Regions from separate parts of the Homo sapiens genome. Here regions 1, 2, 4, 5 and 6 are each linked to region 3. The links are contacts of gene promoters, found by promoter capture Hi-C in blood cells and fetal thymus (Javierre and others, 2016). All regions are on one chromosome and are shown on one strand. Each heading gives the region's core, a stretch centred on a gene start or on the middle of the fragment in contact. The rest is flanking DNA. Distances are from core to core; before and after follow the strand shown. Region 1 overlaps UST (uronyl 2-sulfotransferase). Region 2 overlaps UST (uronyl 2-sulfotransferase). Region 3 holds the start of PPIL4 (peptidylprolyl isomerase like 4). Region 4 overlaps UST (uronyl 2-sulfotransferase). Region 5 overlaps UST (uronyl 2-sulfotransferase). Region 6 overlaps UST (uronyl 2-sulfotransferase).

What was found. Contacts are between HindIII fragments. The CHiCAGO score rates a contact against its expected background, and 5 or more counts as called.
Region 1: a contact is called between a fragment that was not itself captured here and the fragment with the promoter of PPIL4 in region 3, in 8 of 17 cell types (activated CD4 T cells, non-activated CD4 T cells, total CD4 T cells and 5 more). The highest score is 18.6, in activated CD4 T cells.
Region 2: a fragment that was not itself captured here is called in contact with the fragment with the promoter of PPIL4 in region 3 in 5 of 17 cell types (activated CD4 T cells, non-activated CD4 T cells, total CD4 T cells and 2 more); the score reaches 12.5 in activated CD4 T cells.
Region 4: a contact is called between a fragment that was not itself captured here and the fragment with the promoter of PPIL4 in region 3, in 1 of 17 cell types (naive CD8 T cells). The highest score is 6.4, in naive CD8 T cells.
Region 5: a fragment that was not itself captured here is called in contact with the fragment with the promoter of PPIL4 in region 3 in 1 of 17 cell types (non-activated CD4 T cells); the score reaches 5.3 in non-activated CD4 T cells.
Region 6: a contact is called between a fragment that was not itself captured here and the fragment with the promoter of PPIL4 in region 3, in 1 of 17 cell types (non-activated CD4 T cells). The highest score is 6.1, in non-activated CD4 T cells.

What each region holds. Positions count from the first base shown.
Region 1 is chr6:149,016,746-149,020,171 of GRCh38, reverse strand. UST (uronyl 2-sulfotransferase) reads right to left here. Exons shown (of 8, transcript NM_005715.3): 6 at 936-1,033. Among named protein-coding and RNA genes, the nearest start is that of UST-AS2, 14 kb to the left of the region's middle. The HindIII fragment of the contact is 2,434 bases long and covers 707-3,140 here.
Region 2 is chr6:149,000,306-149,003,690 of GRCh38, reverse strand. The region is part of intron 5 of UST (uronyl 2-sulfotransferase); the gene reads right to left. Among named protein-coding and RNA genes, the nearest start is that of UST-AS2, 31 kb to the left of the region's middle. The HindIII fragment of the contact is 6,154 bases long and covers 1-3,385 here.
Region 3 is chr6:149,544,068-149,547,525 of GRCh38, reverse strand. It overlaps PPIL4 (peptidylprolyl isomerase like 4), which reads left to right and starts at 1,483. Exons shown (of 13, transcript NM_139126.4): 1 at 1,483-1,590. The coding sequence starts at 1,521. RefSeq lists enhancers at 1-590, 1,294-1,593. The HindIII fragment of the contact is 2,652 bases long and covers 595-3,246 here.
Region 4 is chr6:148,762,998-148,766,370 of GRCh38, reverse strand. The region is part of intron 1 of UST (uronyl 2-sulfotransferase); the gene reads right to left. It overlaps LOC107986659 (a long non-coding RNA gene), which reads left to right. Exons shown (of 2, transcript XR_001744408.2): 1 at 1-3,373. Among named protein-coding and RNA genes, the nearest start is that of UST, 18 kb to the right of the region's middle. The HindIII fragment of the contact is 7,407 bases long and covers 1-3,373 here.
Region 5 is chr6:148,983,561-148,987,139 of GRCh38, reverse strand. All of the region lies in intron 5 of UST (uronyl 2-sulfotransferase), which reads right to left. Among named protein-coding and RNA genes, the nearest start is that of UST-AS1, 21 kb to the right of the region's middle. The HindIII fragment of the contact is 1,045 bases long and covers 1,634-2,678 here.
Region 6 is chr6:148,965,735-148,968,971 of GRCh38, reverse strand. The region is part of intron 5 of UST (uronyl 2-sulfotransferase); the gene reads right to left. Among named protein-coding and RNA genes, the nearest start is that of UST-AS1, 2.7 kb to the right of the region's middle. The HindIII fragment of the contact is 2,032 bases long and covers 341-2,372 here.

The DNA.
Region 1 (3,426 bases), core at 674-3,173, 530 kb after region 3:
AACGAAGCAGAAATCATAGCATAAGCAAAAAGGTACAATGAATGCGTTGCCGGTGTAGAAGTAGCAGTTCTCCTTTGGCCTTTTCAGAAACACAAGGACCCTCTAGTTAATGTTTCCTTTGGGGAATAATGTCACTTCTGATAGCAGGGGTTGATTTCCTACCAAGCAAATATAATGCTTCATTGTTGCTGCCATTTCTTCTCCAGGCTATGACATTTGTCTAGCACAGTAGATTTCAACTATAGCTACGCCAGAAGCATCTGGGGAGGCTGCTACACACGAGACTATGATTGGGTGGGGGTTCTTAACAAGTATACAGGGGTGCTGATGCAGGACCTGGGCAGATCACACCCTGGGGGTCCTGACTATCTGAGTAAGTCACTCTCTAAAGAAGGTTGTGCCTTCAAGTAAGGTTGACAGGTGATCATTATAAAACACTTTCTTCTCTGCCTACTAAGTATATCCACTATGGGATTGAGGTGTGGGCTTCCAGTGTCTCAGACCCAGTGACACATGCTACGAGGGCAGGTTGTTGGTTAAGTCAGTCACTGTACAGGAGCAGGCTGGGTGTTCGCTCCTGGTCTTCACGATCACATTTTATGTGACATTTTGTCATTTTATCCAAAGAGAAAGACAAACAACATGGGATGAGTAGTGACAAGTATGTTTTAGGTATAAACAAGGGTTTGGTTCCAGTTACAAAGCTTTATATGGTGGTCTCCTGAGGCCTCTACAGACCCTGATTTTTAAATTTCATTATTTATAGGACATTTGGAGTCTCAAATATTATCTTGAAAGATTAATAGTAAACAGGAACTGAATTCCAGAAGGTTGAGAGACTAGGGATACAAAAGATTCCCACCGAGTACCAGGCTGGTGGGGTTCTTGCCCTTGTTGTGCGTACGTGCATGCCATGACCCTGCTTTAGCCCTTACCTGCATCTGGGATGCTGTCCACAAAAGTACGGAATGATGTAAAATAACCTGGGGTTGGAGCACTCGGGATAGTTTTCAAGAATACACTCATTGATATCCTAGAAGAGAAAATACAGCAGTCAGATGTCTTGTAGTCTCTGCAAGGCTCTATCAAATGCCACACAGTTTAAGTAAAATTCATGATTGAATTACACAGGCACGCCTTGAGAAGATGAAGAGAATTCACAGATTTCATGAGAAAACTTATTTTTTGCCTCCCAGCATCCTGCTCCACTGGCCAGGCACACACAGGGCTGGGCCATTTTAGAGAGTGCATGCTCTGTTGAGTAAACTGCATCTCTGCACTTCCTGGTGGCTCCGAGTCTTAAGTTTGGTCACAGGCCTTGGGAGAACAGTGGTACCCACTGTGCTTCGTGGTGGCGCCACCAGTTGCCAGCCAATTAGTAGGTATACAGTTGGCAATTAATAAATGTTTGTTGCATGAATTTAGGGCTTCTCTGTGTATCCATGCATCCAACAACTAAGTACCTACAATAGTCTCATAAGAGTTTGCAAATTTTAGAGGAGCTGTAAAATCACTTCTAACACTATATTAGCTTAAAAAGTAGCAGGATGTTTATATACAGACACCCTCTCACTTTCAAAGGCAACAGTTGTGACGTCCAGGTTTTCCATTTCTCTTATATGAGGTTGGACATGGTGTTTCTGAGGGCGTTACCAGAGCTTGAAATGGCTTGGTGGGGGTAAGCAGAAGGGCTCAAAACCAACTTTTATCAAGGTAGATCATATTAGAGATTCTAAATAAGACATGCCTCATTCTCAGGTATTTCTAAGGAGAAAAGATAACTCAATCTACAAATAAACCAAACAGCTGTAGGATGTTTTTCCAGAGACTATACTGGCAAGGCAGATTAAGACTGGACACAACTCCCAAATATGGTTGATGAAATTATGAGTCGGTAGAAGCTACTGTATCTGATATACATGTGTGGGTGTAGGTGTTTAGGTGTGGGTGTTTAGCTAGTAACAATTTTTTTAGTTCAAATTGGGAATGAGAGAAATATAATTTATGCTTTTTCTTAAAAACAATAATCCCCTCATACTTCTTCAGTTTATATGCCAATTAAGTAAATTACACAATTACAATAACAAATTCAACGGAAATAAACAGAATCTGCAAAAAACACAATTGAGAGTACTCAAGCACTTGAGTTTACCATGAGAGGCGGAGGTGCAGTTTCCAGGGAGGAACATATGAGAAGTGAATAGGGGGGTGCATATGTCTGTCCAGCCATGTGGTGAGGGTGATTAAGAGCATCTCATTGTGTATGAAAACCCATTAAAATGCAAGACACTAGACCTGAAATACCTTTCTAAGAAGAGTTTGACACTGACAGATGTGTGTGTGTGTGTGTGTGTGTGTGTGTGTGTGTGTGTATATATGGATATTCATTGCTGCAATGAGTTTATTTATTACAACAAAATATGGCAGAATTTACATGTTCACGAACGGGGGATTGGTTTTAAGAGAAATTATGGTACATTCACACACTGAAATACTGGATACCTGGAAAAAATGAGAAGGATCTGTGTGTGCTATCCTGAAAAGTCTTGGATAAATTTTCAAGTGAATGAAAGTATAGACTACAGGACAATATAAACATGTAGGACAATATAAAAATCAACATGTTTACATAAACACAAAAGGATCTGGAAGGAGACACAGCACACGATTGAAAGCAGTTTTTTCTGGTGGTTGGCATAAAGGAAGATGAGAATATACTGAATTTTTCCTTATTCCTTTTTTGAAGTGTTAGCTTTTATTACAATGTACGCATCTTACTTTTTTTGTTTTTTTTTTTGAGACAGAGTCTTGCTGTCCCCCAGGCTGGACTGCAGTGGCGTGATCTCGGCTCACTGGAAGCTCCACCTCCCGGGTTCACGCCATTCTCCTGCCTCAGCCTCCCGAGTAGCTGGGACTACAGGTGCCCGCCACCACACCCGGCTAATTTTTTGTATTTTTAGTAGAGATGGGGTTTCACCGTGTTAGCCACGATAGTCTCCATCTCCTGACCTCATGATCCGCCCGCCTCGGCCTCCCAAAGAGCTGGGATTACAGGCGTGAGCCACTGTGCCCGGCTGCATCTTACATTTATTGTGAGAAAACTGTACAGAGATTTACACACTGTGAAACAAACCAAAGCTTGTGCGGGCGGGTGCCTGTGCTTTGCCTTGAGGATGCTCTGAGCCCCCTGCCCTGCTCACATTTGAGGGTGTCCTCTGGTAGTTGGCCTCCCCTTGGAACCTGAGCCTTTAGTCCGAGGGACCCAATAACCCTGGTGGCCTCCCTCTGCAGCAGTGGCAACAGGGAGGGGGCCAGGAGCTGGGTGAGAAGCAGAGCCTAGGGTGATTCTGGCCAGGACAGTGTTCATCTGCTGAGGTCGAGATTTCACAAAGAAGGACGGAGTAAAGTGATGGGGAACATCCAAAG
Region 2 (3,385 bases), core at 836-3,335, 540 kb after region 3:
AAAAGTCTACAGATTTTAGTGCAAAACCACTGGGCCCAACCCAGTTTTGTACAAACATTTTCGAAGGTAAAAGTGGAATACATTATCAGTCACTAATTCTCACCATTATAGTGTTTTTGGCTAACAATCATTTTCCTTCTGTCTATGATGTCAGAAACCTTAGCACAAAGAATGTCTTTCAGCAGAGGTTAGCCCCATTGGGAATTATTTATAAAACTACTAGGTGCCTTAATGTTTTTTTTTTTTGTTTTGTTTTTTACCAAATTGGACATCAAAATGACGTTAAAATATTTTGGCAAAAATTTTGGGGCATAAATTTTACATAATCATAAATTATAAGGACTGAATCCAGTGGTTAGTTGAATACTGAGGAAAAAGGGGTGGGAGAGAGCTATTATTATCTTTAATGCCATTGATTAGAAATGAAATGCAAGGTAAACTTCATTTGGGATTCTAACTTTAAGTTTTCAACCATACTATTCTAATACAGTTTAAAGGCCTTGTATAAAGGCATAGTTCCATTGGCCATAGTTCTATCATGCCACGATATGGTCTACTGCAATTTTATTTCAGAGATTCTTAATTTAGGGTAGTTCAAAATGATTCACTCATTGTGTTTCAACAATTCAAACTGGAATCTCCAACCAATGAATGCCAAGATTCTTTAATTACATTATGAATTAAGGCATCTACTGTACATAAGGCATCACAGTAAGCACTCTGGCTTTAAGCGACCAATGAATAACTGGATTGATTTTCCTTTATTTGTAGTTTATAATATGTAACTATGCTAATACTTATATAGAATATCTTCTTGGTAGTTCTCATTATTTTTATGATTTTTTAAAATTAATGCCTTTGCCTTATATTAAAATGTGTCATACGGCCAGGCGCAGTGGCTCACGCCTGTAATCCCAGCACTTTGGGATGCTGAGGCAGGTGGATTACCTGAGGTCAGGAGTTCGAGACCAGCCTGACTAATATGGTGAAACCCCACCTCTAGTAAAAATACAAAAATTAGCTGGGCGTGGTGGTCTGTGCCTGTAGTCCCAGCTACTCGAGAGGCTGAGACAGGAGAATTGCTTGAACCCGGGAGGCGGAGGTTGCAGTGAGCTGAGATTGCGCCACTGCACTCCAGCCTGGGTGACAGAGTGAGACACCATCTCAAAAAATAAATAAATAAATACATAAAAAGTAAAAATAAAAATGTATCATGTTATTATTCCTACACTAAATTTATTTAGTTTTTAACTGGTAACTCTCTCCAGTCTCATTATTTTCAGCCTCTACTTTTAGTAAATGAACCTTTCTATTTTTAATAAATTAATTTAATCATTTACTTTTAGTGAGATTAAAATACTTAATTTCTGCACCTTACATTGCGTTTTTTAAAATTTGCTATTCTTTTTTTCCTGCATCTTTTTTCTTTTCATGTCTTCTGTTGGTTTAATAGAGTTTTTAATAATATCCCTTCCCTGTCCTCTACTGCTTTAGAATCTAAGGATTACATTTTACCCTTACATTTTTTTTTTAACATTGTAAGATTTTTTTTCAAACACATGGATGACTCTTACAATTTAAGAAAATAAAAATAACAAAGGAGCTTAAGATACTTTCATTACTGAGAGAGTCTGAGGAAGGGCAAAGAATTTTAAAAATTCATTTGTAAATAGATGATGAGAAAGATAAGTAAATGGAAAAGTCATTAAATTTTTTTTAACATTCAAACTTGATTAAATTTTTTCTAATAAAGCATGAAGTAATTTGGTTTTCTTATATTCCTCCAAATCGGAGATGAATTTTAGCAACTTTATCCATTAAACACCACTCACCTTTTTAAAGTTGCCTAATTGTAATCTTTTTTTAACATACAAACAACTTTTAACACTTAATATTCAACTCATTTTACTAACATTGTTTTACTCAACAGCTCTGTTCACTGTTGCTTTTTATGCCCTTGTACCTTAATTTCCCCCATAATTCATCTTTTAATAATGCTTTTAATGAACTCAGTAAGTAGGAAACTCTCTGTGTCTGAAAAAGGCCAGTGGAATGATTGTTTAGCTGGGTATAAAATTCCAGGTTCACAATTTTTTTATCTCAACACTTTGAAGATATTACTGTACTGTCATCTGATATCTATTGTTGCTGACAAGAAGTCTGCTATGAGCCTAACTATGATTCCTTCATTGGTCATCTGCTTTGCTTCCTTTTCCTTGATATCTTCAGTTTCACTCTAAAATACTTGTGTGAATATTTAAATTTGTTTAATCTGTTCAGTACTCCCAGTGTACTTTTAGTATGAAGGATCACATCTCCAGGCCAGGCGCGGTGGCTTATGCCTATAATCCCAGCACTTTGGGAGGCCAAGGTGGGCAGATCCGAGGTCAGGAGATCAGGACCATCCTGGCTAACATGGTAAAACCCTGACTCTACTAAAAATACAAAAAAATTAGCCAGGCGTGGTGGTAGGTGCCTGCAGTCCCAGCTACTCAGGAGGCTGACGCAGGAGAATGGCATGAACCTGGGAGGTAGAGCTTGCAGTGAGTCGAGATCATGCCACTGCACCCCAGCCTGGGTGACAGAGCAAGACTCTGTCTCAAAAAAAAAAAAAAAAAGAATCATCTCCAATTTTGGAATATTTTGTCCTTTAATTGCTTCAAATATTTCTTCCCTAACATTTTTCTATTCTCTTTTTTCTGGATCTCCTATCAGATGCCTGTTGAAACTTTACAATATTTTTTCCATGTCTCTTAACTGCTCTATCTGTCTATCTGTTTCTGAATTCCATTCTTGGTGAATTCCTCTTGACTATTTTCTAAATCAATTAATATTCTCTTTAACTTTATTTAGCTTAGAACTTATCTATTAAATTTTTACTTCAATAACCATATTTTTCATTTTACTTAATTATTTTAAAGATATCCTCATGTCCTTGTTTCATGTCTCTCTTACAATTTTCTGCTCTTTTTAAATGGAAGCTATTCATTCTTTTGTCTTTTCAAACATCCTAGGCACACTTATTTTAAAGACTTTGTCAGGTTGTTCCTTAAAGCCATCTGGAGTGTATTCATATTCCAGTACTAGATTTTGCTGCCTGCCTTTCTTGGTATTGGATTTTTTTTCCATGTTCCTTAGAATGTATGGTCTGTAGGCTCATTTTGGGTAGGAGATTCATAATCTGTCTCCGTCTTCTTCCTCTCTCTGCTGCCTCTCTCCTCTCCCTGTCTCTCTTTCTTCCTCCTTCTCACCCTCTGTCTTATTCTAGTGGTTTTGTGGCTTCTACCATCCGGACTCCCGGGTCCTGAGTCCAGAATCAGGTCTTAGTTTTACTTCCCATCTTATGAGAGCAATGAGAATATTACACATTTGCTTACAAAGGAGC
Region 3 (3,458 bases), core at 234-2,733:
AGAAAAAGAAGTGTCTGTGGGGTTAATTTTAATTATGGCAGCCATGGAGGGCCTCACTGACAGGGTGACCGACGCCAAAGCGCCTGAAGGAGGTGAATGGGAGCCATACAAATAACTGGAGGAAGAGGTCCCTCAACCAAGGCAAGTGAAAAGGCCATGGGGCAGGAGTATGTCAGCAGTGTTCAGGGAATAGCAAACTGTCTACTGTGGCTTCAGAGGAATAAGAAGATGGCGTAGGATGGGGTAGGAGAGGATCTTGTAAATCATTATAAAAGCTCTGGCTTTTCCGCCAGGTGCGGTGGCTCAAGCCTGTAATCCCAGCACTTTGGGAGGCGGAGGCGGGCGGATCCACGAGGTCAGGAGGTCGAGACCATCCTGGCTAACACGGTGAAACCCGGTCTCTACTAAAAACACAAAAAATTAGCCGGGCGTGATGGCGGACACCTGTAGCCCCAGCAACTCGGGAGGCGGAGGCAGGAGAATGGGGTGAACCCGGGAGGCGGAGCTTGCAGTGAGCCGAGATCGCGCCACTGCACTCTAGACTGGGCGACAGAGCGAGACTCCGTCTCAAAAAAAAAAAAAAAAAAAAAAGCTTTGGCTTTTCGTCAGATGTGAAGTTATTGGAGATTATGTGTAAAATGTCATAAGAAAGAGTGACAGGCTTGCCCAGAAGAGTGTCTGGGGAATAAACTTGCATGGCAAAATGTTAGTTTTGGCCAGGCGCAGTGGCTCACGCCAGTAATCTCAGCACTTCGGGAGGCCAAGGCGGGAAGAGTTCGAACTCCTTGAGCTCAGGAGTTTGAGACCAGTCTGAGCAACATAGTGAGACCACCTCCCCCGACCGCCATCTCTACAAAAAATAAAAGAACAAAATTAGCCGGGCGTGGTGGCGCGCGCCTGTGGTCACTTGGGAGGCTGAGACAGGAAAATCGCTGGAGCCCGGGAGGTGGAGGTTGCAGTGAGCCGACATCGCGCCACTGCACTCCAGCCTGGGCAACAGAGCGAGACCCTGTCTCAAAACAGAAAACAAAACAAAATGTTAGTTCTTAGAATCGGAAACCCCTAGTAGAGGCCCAAAGTTGTTTTGCGAAAAGGAGACTGACGAGGAAACCCGGAGGAGTCCGCCCAAATAGGTGGAGAGAAGATCCCGCCGCGGGCGCCCCCTGGTGGATAAAAGGGCCGCGCGGAGGGCCGCTCTGCTCTTGAGACGGACACAAACGGGGCACAAAACACTATACTGAGACCGTTCTGAGGGACAGGCTTCCACCAAAATCGCCAAGGGCGGACCAGGATTTTCAAAACGGCCGCGCCGGGGGCGGGACCAACCCGATCCGTAAGTCAGCTGGGCAGCCCGGCGCCCGCACGCCGACCGGAAGGAACTGCTCGGAACCGGGGGCGGCGCCGGCGAGATGACGCAAAAGGGGTCGCGCCGAGGGTGACGCGTGGCGTAGACGACGCCGTCGGCCTGCGCCTGTCACCCCCCTCCTCCCGGGGTTTGTAGCGGAGGAGGAGCGGGCGCCATGGCGGTTCTACTGGAGACCACTTTAGGCGACGTCGTCATCGACTTGTACACCGAAGAACGGCCGCGTGGTGAGGCTTGAGCCCCACTCACCTGTCGCCGGGGCCCCCGAGCTTGTCTCCCTACTTTCCCTTCTCTGCGCAGTCCAGGGCAGAGATTGGCTAGAGCTCGAGCTTCTGGGCTGCTGGTGCCCGCGACTGGGCTATTTTATTAACCGGCCTTGGCTAGAAAAGTTTTTGTGACGGGAATTCGTTTGAGCCTTGGCAGCCCTTCTCCCGTATTTTGTGTTGGCCAGTCCGGTGGACGGTGCTTGCGGTCATTAATTGCCTTTGGGAGTGTGTGTGTGGGGCGTGTGTGTGTGTGATTCGAGCTGCACATACAATACCCATAGCTTTTGTGCCTTTATTGTGTTTACTCGTGAGAGGAACATAGGAACTATTGCTTGGTGTGTAATCGGTTAAATCTTGATGAAGGCAGTTAGGGTGTGCTTGGCGCAGCGAGTGTGGGCATACCGCTTAGGTGGAGGAGGAAGAGGTTGTCTGGAGTGTGGACTGAGCCTTCGAGGCACTGGGCTAAGTCCTGGGCTTGGCTTCTTGCCCCCGAGGGTCTGATTTTTCCACTGGGGGAAGTAGACACAGGAACCCATTTTAGTTTTCTATGTGTTATGGTAGAAGAATGTGTAAGTTGCCACGGAAACCAGAAGAGGGCGGCTTCTTTGGTGGGGGGTGGGAAGAAGCAAAGCTAGCGAATACTATATAGAACACTTGAACTAGTTCTTTCAAAGATGAATGGGAATGAGGGTTTTCTTAGCTTGGACTTTCTTTGTTTGGAATTTTCTGGAAACGGCAAGTAGTTTGGTGTGGCTGGAAGGACTGGTGTGAGTCGTGGAATGGTAGACTCGAGTGTGGTCAGATACGCCTAGGTCAGTCGTGAATAGTCTTGTGTGCCCTACTGATGATCAGAGTCCTTGAAGACTTTAAAAGCAGGATTGAGGCATGGCATACTTGTTTTGAGAAGATAATAGGCAGCGGTGTGGAGAATGTATCAGAGTCAGGAAGAAACTGAGACCAGGAGAGATTAGTTACAAACAGGGTCCTACCCACATGGAATGCAGAGCCTATCAAAGAAGGTGAAATAAGTTGCAATATTGTACAATAACTACCTCCTGCCGTGCTCCGCTTTCCCTCGCACGCAGCTATTCCTCCCTCCTCTCCACCTGGCGAAAACACTACAAACTCTCCCGTACCATTGTTACCATTCTTTTGCTGTTTCTTCTAAACAATATTCTTCTCCACTATTGTCCTTCTGGCAAACTTACTACTTATTATCTAAATCTCAGATCAAGCATCATCTCTTCTTTGAAGCTCTCCCTCCTTTCTAAGCAGAGTTACCTGAGGGTTCCTCTGCTGTGTCTTAGGTCTTTTATAAACCACATGACACATTTTATTTTAACATTTACCTATTATCCTGGTGTTGTTTACAAGCGTGCCCTCGCTCAAGAATGTAAACTCCAATGAGAGCAGGAACTATACCATAATTATCATCTCTATATCCTGAGTACCCAGTACAATGTCTGCTACTTTTAGGGCACACACTAGAGGTTCATTATGATGACTAATGGATATAAATGTGTTGTATTAGTTAGGACCCTTTGTTCAAGTGATAGAAACCCAACTCAAACTGGCATAAACAAAATAATTGGTTGCCTCATAATACTGGGGTAAGCTTGGATCGAGTGGCTGGATCGAGTGTTTCAAAGAATATCATAGGGAATTTTGTTTTTTATCTCTTGATTTTGCTTTTCTTTGAGTTCCTTTGACGCTCTGCCCATGTAGAGTAGCACCTGGCAAAATAAATGGGCCTCTTTTCCCAGAGTTATGAGGAAATAAAGGGGTGTAGAGCTACCCCACCCAATTAACAAGCAGTGGGTCTGCAAAGA
Region 4 (3,373 bases), core at 76-2,575, 780 kb after region 3:
TGAGTGGGTGAGAGCAAGTGGGTGAGTGGGTGAGAGTGATAGGAGAACATGTGTCTCTGATCCTTTAAGGCTCATTGATGTGAGACTTCAATGAAGAATAAGCCTTGTGAGCAAGACTTACTCTGCAATTAACAAAGTCAACTATCATTCTGACAAGGTGACAGGGAAAAAATCTGGGGAAGAGAGGCTATATTTTGGCACAGAAACGCATTATGCCATAAAACAAATGAAGTATGAAGATATAAGCCTAACCAAAACCATACGATCATCTCAACAGCTGCAGAAAAAGCATTCCATAAAATCTAACATCTTTTCATGATAAAAGCCCTCAACAAACTAGGCATCAAAGGAACATACCTCAAAATAATAAAAGCCATATAGGACAAACCCACAGCCAACATCATACTGAATGGAGAAAATTTAAAAGAACTTCCCCTATGAACTGGAACAAGACAAGAATGCCAACTCCCACTACACTATTCAACATAATAGTAGAAGTCCTAGCCAGAGCAATTAGGCAAGATGCTGCAGGAAGTCAGGGACCCCGAACGGAGGGACAGGCTGAAGGCAGAAGAACATAAATTGTGAAGATTTCATGGACATGTATTAGTTCCCCAAATTAATACTTTTATAATTTCTTATGCCTGTCTTTACTACAATCTCTGAACATAAATTGTGAAGATTTCATGGACATTTATCACTTCCCCAATCAATACTCTCATGATTTCCTATGCCTGTCTTTACTTTAATCTCTTAATCCCATCATCTTCGTAAGCTGAGGATGTATGTCACCTCAGGACCCTGTGACGATTGTATTAACTACACAAATTGTTTGTAGAGCATGTGTGTTTGAAAATTACCGATGTCATTTTTCACAGAATTAGAAAAAACAATCCTAAAATTTATATGGAACCAAAAAGACCCTGAATAGTCAAAGCAATCCTAAGCAAAAAGAACAAAGCTGGAGGGATAGCATTATCTGAATTCAAATTATACTACAAGATGATAGTAACCAAAACAGCATGGTACTGGTACAAAAACAGACATATAGAGCAATAGAAGACAGTAGAGAACCCAGAAATAAAGCCACATACCTACAACCAACTGATCGTAAACAAAGTTGGCAAAAATATACAATGGGGAAAGGATACCCTATTCAATAAGTGGTGCTGAAACAATAAGTGGTGTTTGAACAATATGAAATCTGGGCACCTTAAGAACAGGATAACAGCGATTTTCAGGGAACAAGGGAGATAACCTTAAAGTCTGGCTGCCTTTCTCTTATTACCCAAAATGGGTAAGAGAAATACCGCTAAATTCTTTCCCCAGTAAGGAATATTAATAATTAACAGCGTTGGGAAAAGAATGCATTCCTAGGGCGGGGCCTCTAAAATGGGTGCCCTGGGAGTGTCTGCCTTATGCAGATATAGATAGGGATGAAACACACCCTAGTCTCCTGCAGCACCCCCAGGCTTGCTAGGATTAGGAAATTCCAGCCTGTCAAATTCTAGTCAGACCGGTTCTCTGCTCTTGAACCCTGACATTGTGTGCACAGCAGGACATGGAAGTTCATTAGTGATTCTAGTTTCGCCCTGACCTTCTGCCTTGTGACCTTTTGTTGCCCTTGAAGCATGTGATCTCTGTGACCCACACCCTATTCATGCACTCCCTCCCCTTTGAAAACTGCTAATAAAAACTTGCTGGTTTTACAGCTCAGGGGGCATCATGGAACCTGCCGACATGTGATGTCTCCTCCGGACACCCAGCTTTAAAATTTCTCTCTTTTGTACTCTTTCCCTTTATTTCTCAGACCGGCCGACACTTAAGGAAATAGAAAAGAACCCACGTTGAATTATCGGGGGTGGGTTCCCCTGATAGCAAGAGAAAGAAATAAAAGGCATCCAAATTAGAAAAGAGGAAGTCAAATTATCTCTGTTGGCTGATGACATGATCTTATACCTAGAAAACCCTAAAGACTCCTCCAAAAGACTTCTAGATTTGATAAATTACTTCAGTAAAGTTTCAGGACACAAAATCAATGTACAAAAATCAGCATTTCTATACACCAATAATGTTCAAGCTGAGAGCCAAATCAAGAACTCAATATCATTTACAATAGCCACAAAAAATAATAAAACTCCTAGGAATGCATTTAACCAAGGAGGTGAAAAATCTCCACAAGAATTATAAAACATTGATTAAAAAAACTGTAGATGACACAAACAAATGGAAAAGCATCCCAAGCATGTGGATTGGAAGAATCAATATCATTAAAATGCCCATACTATCCAAAGTAACATATAGATTACATGCAATTCCTATCAAATTACCGATGTCATTTTCACAGAATTAGAAAAAACAATCCTAAAATTCATATGGAACCAAAAAGACCCTGAATAGTCAAAGCAATCCTAAGCAAAAAGAACAAAGCTGGAGGGATAGCATTATCTGAATTCAAATTATACTACAAGACTATAGTAACCAAAACAGCATGGTACTGGTACAAAAACAGACATATAGAGCAATAGAAGATAGTAGAGAACCCAGAAATAAAGCCGCTTACCTACAACCAACTGATCATAAACAAAGTTGGCAAAAATATACGATGGGGAAAGGATACCCTATTCAATAAGTGGTGCTGGAAAAATTGGACAGCCATATGCAGAAGAATGAAACTGGACCCCTTTTCTTACCATATAAAAAGTTAACTCAAGATGAATTAAAGACTTAAAGGTAAAACCTGAAACTATAAGAATCCTAGAAGAAAACCTAGGAAAAACTCTTCTGAACATTGGCCTGGGCAAAGAATATATGGCTAAGCAATGCAACAAAAACAAAAATAAACAAAAGGGACTTAATTAAACTAAAGAGCTTCTGTACAGCAAAGAAAGAATCAACAGAGTAAACAAACAACTTGCAGAAAGGGAGAAAATATTTGCAAAAATGCATCCCACAAAGGACTAATATCCAGAATCTATACAAGGAACTCAAATAACTCAACAAGAAAAAAGCAAATAACCCTATTAAAAAGTGGGCAAAGGACATGAACAGACATTTTTCAAAAGAAGATATACAAGCAGCCCACAAAAATACAAAGGAGAAAATGCTCAGTATCACTAATTATCAGAGAAATGCAAATTAAAACCACAATGAGATACCATCTCACACCAGTCAGAATGACTAGTATTAAAAAGTCAAAAAACAACAGATGTTGGCAAGGATGGGGAGAAATGGGAACATGTACACACTGTTAGTGGGAATGTAAATTAGTACAACCTCTGTGGAAAACAGTATGGAGATTTCTCAAAGAACTAAAAATCGAACTACCATTCGACCCAGCAATCCCACTACTGGGTATCTACGGGAAGGAAAA
Region 5 (3,579 bases), core at 907-3,406, 560 kb after region 3:
AACCAGATCCCTGGGCTGTAATGGATGTCACAGTTCTCTTAAATGGTCATCTTGAGGTTAAAACACATTTTTCCAATAGTGTCTGCCATTATAAAATGTAAGATTCAGAAAGATACATCTGTATGAAGCACAATCTTTTGTATTATTTTGTAGATGTTACCAATCCTTAATCACCAGTAGGGTGATGATGTATATCAATCAGCATCACCTTCAACAGTGAATAGTTACTGAGCAGTGTGGTGTGCAGGACACTGCAAAGACAGGGAGCATAAAGTGATTGCACTCTCTGTCCTTGAGGAACTTTCTATCCAGGTAGGGAGACATAAAAATGATGATGACGGCAATTCAGGGAAAAGCAAAATACAGGGCATGGCAAGCTCTCCACAGGGATTCCGAGGAGGAGGGTGGTTTCAGGAATTTTTTGCATCAGAAATGTGTCAGGGAATCATGAAGCCAATTGTCTGTAGCATAGAGGTTGGAGAGTCAGCTGTAGCATCAGATGACCTGGCTTCAAATCAGTGGTGTACCGGCAAATGCCTAACAACCATCTTTTCAGAAACAAGCAAACAAACAAAGGACTGATGTGTAGCATATGCAGATTTCCATGCTGTAAATACTCCTATATGGCCAAATTTTCAAGCTACTGTCTTTGTGTCAACTGACTAGCGCAATTCCTAAAAATAAAAAATTGACTCGATTAGTCTGAGCCAGCTCTAACATACCACTAGCTGAAATCCAGGCTCTATTACTTACTAGTGGTATGAACTGAGGCAAGTTACTTAACCTCTGTAATCCTTGGCATCTCATCTGCAAAACAGGTATAATAATACCAATCTTAGGGGGATGCTGTAAGAATTAAATGAGATATTACATATGTGGCAGCCATGAATCTCTCCCATTGCTGGAAGAGTAAGTAACCAATGGTCCCAGCTGCTTTGTTCGATTTTATCACCTCATTTGTGCCAAGGGCATGCTTCCCGTAGGCTAATATCAGGCAGTGACTAGTGTGACAAGTTGTCTAAGGCAGGCCCATTCCTGCAACACACAGGACTCCTCTGATGAATGACTTTGGCTGACAACTTCCCCTTGGCCTGACTGAAACTTTCTTAAAACTACACTGTGTTCTGAGGCTCTCCTTACCCAATAGTCCTTCCCCTGTTCTTTATAGGAATCAGATCTACTATGGGTTTGATGGCTCTTCCTGCCTCCTTTTCCCTTCACAGGCATTTCCCCCAATAAATCTCTTGCACATCCAATCTCATCTTGGTATCTGCATCTTGAAGAAGCCCTTTAGGTTGTGTATATGGTATGTGCTCAATAGTATTTGTTTTTTAAGAGAAGAGTAATGTGGAATCTCCTTGCGCTTTAGGTTCTGAGGACCTACCTCTTCCTTTGGTAAGTGATCCTGAAAGAGAACGTGACAATCCCACGCATACCTCTGCATGCCTCACCAGGCCAATGCAGACCAGACTTCCCCACCACTATCTTCATTTTTTCCACATCTTTCTTGCCCCATCTGCATATCCATCTTGCTTCTACCCTTGTCACTAAATGGAAACTGCTCTTGCCAAGATTAGTAGAAATCTAATGGTTACGTTTTCTATTCTCATTTTAGATATTCTTCCTTGAAGCTTCTGACAGTCATGAACCTCTCAGAACTTTTTTCCTCTGATTCTCTGACACCACCACACCTCTATATTGTACTCTTCCTGGGACTCTTGTTCAGTTTTTGTTGTTGTTGTTGTTGTTGTTTTGCTTCAAAGTCCTCAGTTGGTGCTAAAAAATGGGTGACTCTGGGCTCTTTTATCCTCATCCCTGATACGCACCCCATGGCTCTAATTCAACAACTTCAGCAGATAATTACTGAGCACCAACATTGTTCCAGACATGATCTCAACCTTCACAGAATATTTTAGTAGATTGATTACCCTCTCTTTGGATACTGATAACTTCCAATTCCACATATTCAGCACAGCCCACTTTTCTGCCTGCTGGGTGTCTCCATTCATATGTACTGCAAGCACCTGAAACTCAGCATATCCAAAGCAGAATTTATTTTTCCTGCACATCCGTCCCGTTATTCCCTACCCTCAGCAGTACCTTGCATCAGCTTACTCCAACTAGAAACCTAGAATCATCCTGAACGCCTCTTCATCCTTTAGCTCCATAGCCAATTACTCATGAAACAATTGTTGATCTTATTACATAGACATGTCTTTATCCATTCCTCTTGGTCTCATGTACCATGACAATCCTATTTCAAACCAAAATAGTTTATTTTGCTCTACTCCAAACATCCTCCCCTTGCAAGATTTTCTAAATGAAAATCTTGGCTGAGTGCAGTGGCTCATGCCTGTAATCCCAGCACTCTGGGAGGCCAAGGCAGAAAGATGGCTCAAGGCCAGGAGTCAGGACCAGCCTGGGAAACACAGCAAGGCCCCATTCGCTAGGGTAGTGCACACCTATAGCCCGAGCTACTTGGCAGGCTGAGGTGGGAGGATTGCTTGAGCCCAGGGGTTTGAGGCTGCAGTGAGCTATGATTGTGCCACTGCACTCCAGCCTGCAAGACAGAGTGAGATCCCGTCTCTAAAAAACAAATTAATTAAAAATAAATAAATAAATGCAAATCCTATCATGTCATGATGTCTAGGACTTTTTATTGTCTTTAGCATAAAGCTTCAAATATTTAGAATATCTTTTTAAGGGCTTTGATGATTGATCTATTGCCCACCTCTCCAGCTTTCATATCACACCCCTGTTCTCATCCATATGAGATTCTTGCAGTACTTGGGACCCTTGACCTATGCACGTATTGTTCCCACAGCCTGATCATCTCTCCCAATACTTGTTTAATGTCTGTTTTCCCTGATAGATTATATACTCTGGGAGGGCTAGAACCACATCTGTGTTTTTCATTAGTGCATTCTCAACATCTGCTAAAGGGCTGGCTACAGAGTAGGTGCTGTGCATTTGTTGAAAGGAAGAATGAAGGAATTGACCATATCTGAATATAAGTAGTCTAAACATTTATGCACATGATGTATATAATAATCAGTTGCAGATGGGTAGGTTCCTGAAAAGATGTTGGTAACAAAATGCCAGACCCACCGGGTTTATTTATAGTTAAAGGAAAAAACCCAGGAAGAACAGTTTAATTTTTTAAAAAAAGAACAAGTCAAATTTCAGCCACTGGCATCGATGTTATCGTGTGTTTGTACACATGCATGTGTACACTGTGTGATGTGGGGGTGGTGGTGATAGGGTCTCCTATGGTGATTTGGTCACCTTGAAGACTACGTCCTCCTTTTCTGGACAAGGAATGAGGTTGCACTAGGCTGTCTTCAGAAGTAGATTGGTGAACAACACATTGGAAAAGTTTAGGTAACAGCTGTCACTTCTGAGTTTTATCATTTTGTTTCAGAACTTAACATACGCTCTTTTCAGACATTCTTGTACTTCACAAATTTCTTCTTGACATTTTATTTCCTACATTCGCTTTTCCTGGTAAACACCCCATAGGGCTCAGCCTTTGCTGGCAGCATGATAGCAGGAGTTAACTCTGTGTGACATTTCCAACCC
Region 6 (3,237 bases), core at 107-2,606, 580 kb after region 3:
TTACACATCTTTTCTTTTAAACATGCATTACTTTCCACATTTTACAGCCAAGCCGAATAAACAGTGTCACAGAGGCAGTGTTCTCTCTGGGAAGATTTTCTCCCTTTTCTTCCTATTCTTCAAATGGAGGATGGCCTAGTGAAGTGGCAATAATGGTTAGGGCAGCAGCCCAATTTGACATTTTTGAGAACTTGATGTGTAACCAGCAGGGTGAAAATGACAGCATAAGAAATCCACTTTCATGGAAGCTCCAAGACTGGAAAAGGGAGTGGCTTCAGCAGGAATAAGATGCTCTCCCTCATCTGGAGATGACAACAGTTGCTCTTCATTAGAAAAAGCTTTCCACCATTCATTAAATATGGTCTGTGTGCCAGGTATTTCCCTACCCTGGAAATAAAGGAGGCTGGACATGAGCTGGATTAGAGTCTCAGGTGCTGGGATGTGTCCAAGTGTGCCTGGGTTCAGAGGACTCCCACCCCCAAAAAGGAGGCAGCCACCTCCACACTGGGGAGCTTCCAGCTCTGGACAAAAAGAAATGAGCCTAAGACAACTGCCTTTTCACAGTATGGCTGCTAGAAGTTGAACTTGCATCTATGCGAGCACTAATTTATTTAAAAATGATTTTCCAGGAAATGCAAAGGAAGAAGAGTTTGGAAAGAAATAGAAAGTTTGAGAAAAGCTAGTTGTTCCCAGAAAATAAGGTATAGCTATAAGATGCTTGAATATTTGAAAACAAATTGCTGTAACAGCGATGTCTTTGTAAAGATGGAGAGACGATGTTACATCAAATGATTCTGCTTCAAAAGCGTGGGACTCGGCCCAGTCCTCTTCTCCCTTTACCCTTCAGGAACATAAGGTCTGAGTGGGCAAACAGCACCGAAGTGGAATCAGGAGGTCTGGATTCTCCTCCTGGCAGGGACTTTACCCCACCCCGAATCCCAGGCCCGTTCCCACACCTGTAAAATGAGAGAGTCCTCATCCTCTTTGGGGTTCCTGCAAATCCTAGGATTCCTTTACCCTTTCCATTTTCTTCCAAACCACCCTGCCTCACAAGATGATATTATTTCATCCTCAGAGCAGGCTTGGAGGCAGGCACTGGCCACTCCCAGCTGTATGCTAAGCAGCTCTGTGAGGCTCAGGGCCAGGGGCAGAACTGCCCGAATTTTGGCAATGGGATAAAGCAAGGGGCTTTAGAGCACTGAGATCTGGAATGACGTGGTAAATCAGCAGACTCATTTCAGGCCAGCAACCAAGACCCTGTGGGCATGCGGTGTGCAGGGAAGGGCCTCCGAGGGGAGGGGTGGCCGGCAAGGAGGGGACAGTGGGCTCCTCACAGCTGCCTGCGCCCCGCTGAGACACAAACAACACCCTCTTTTGAGTCAAACAACTGACTACCCAGCCTTTGCCAAAATGAGGACAGACTCTTCTGAAAGGGGGCAATTTTATTTCAAGGGTCTAATGGGACCAAGGAGATGGAATTAAAAGTTTCAGCTATTAAAAAAAGGCAATAGACCATCTTCTTCCAAATAAACAAACTATCCTTTGAACAAGAAGACAGCCTTCTAACCAGGTCAGGCTGGAACCAGATCATGAAGGGGACACCCCTCCCCCCCACCACCAGGCTCTCCTCTCTTGAATCTGAGCCCCCCCGAGTTTCTGCTGTGCTGCTTTGGGGAGCCCAGTGCTTTCCTGCTGGGGCCTTGCCAAGGATCGATCTGATGACCTCATCTGACATAGACCCTTCCCGAACACAGTGCTTACATTTGGAAAGGAGCCCCTACAAATTTCTAAGGGCAGAATTCCAGGCAGGGAAATCTCTCTACAATCTCTCAAGTCACATAACAAAGGCAGTTACCAGCTCTTCAAAAATATAACACTTGCCCCAACTACCAACTTTCAATATTTTATGACCTTTTTAAAAAAACTCCAAACCAGGCTGGGCACGGTGGCTCACACCTGTAATCTCAGCACTTTGGGAGGCTGAGGTGGGTGGATCATTTTAGGTCAGGAGTTCGAGACCAGCCTGGCCAACATGGTGAAACCCCCGCCTCTACTAAAAATACAAAAATTAACCAGGCGTGGTGGGAAGCACCTGTAGTCCTAGCTGCTGGGGAGGCTGAAGCAGGAGAATCGCTTGAACCCCGGAGGTGGAGGTTGCAGTGAGCAGAGATCTTGCCACTGCGCTCCAGCCTGGGCAACAGAGCAAGACTGTGTCTCAAAACAAAAACAAAAACGAACAAATGGAAACTCCAAACCATAATTTTTTCCCCTCACATTTGCCACCTTTCTCTCTAATGATTGCAGCTTATTATTTGTGTGAGTGTGTGAAAACTGCATTATATGAAATGATTTACAGGATGGCAACAGAAGCTTGACAGAACGGAAGAAGCTAGAGCATTCCTCTTAACTCTTACATTAATATTTGAAGAGTAGTGTTCATAAGACGTGTTTCTGTATTGTTGGTTTTTTGGCATTTTCTGCTGTCCTTTGGTTCTAACTTTCTTAGCATGAGGATTGAATCAGAACTATGAAAAAATTGTCTGGATTAAATGGAATGTATGCTGTTTTTAAAGAGCATATAGATATATTAATCAAGATCCAAAACAAATAATAAAGATAATTAGAGAAGACATTATTCTTGTAGTGTTTCTATACTCTGAATACACGTCTCACCAAATAAAAAACATATAGTCATATTCATAACCTATAGTTTTTTATTTTATTTAATTATTATTATTATTATTTTTTGAGATGGAGTCTCGGTCTGGCACCTAGGCTGGAGTGCAGTAGCACGATCTTGGCTCACTGCAACCTCTGCCTCCCGGATTCAAAGGATTCTCCTGCCTCAGCCTCCCAATTCGCTGGGATCACAGGCATGCGCCACCATGCTCGGCTAATTTTTGTATTTTTAATAAAGACAGGTTTTCACCATGTTGGCCAGGCTGGTCTCGATCTCCTGGCCTCAAGTGATGCACCTGCCTCGGCCTCCCAAAGTGCTGGGATTACAGGCGTGAGCCACTGCGCCCGGCCTCATAACCTATAAAGAAATAGATTAGGGTTTCGCCATAAAAACTAAAAAAAAAAAAAAAAAAAAAGGGAAAAGCCACTTTTAAAATATATCATCAAAGGAAGAAAATAAAAATAAAAATAAAATCATCAAAATATTTCACTGAAGCCTTAGGTAGTTGATCAAATACCGAAGGTGAGTGGAAAGCCGTGGGTCTGGTGTAGTCGTCT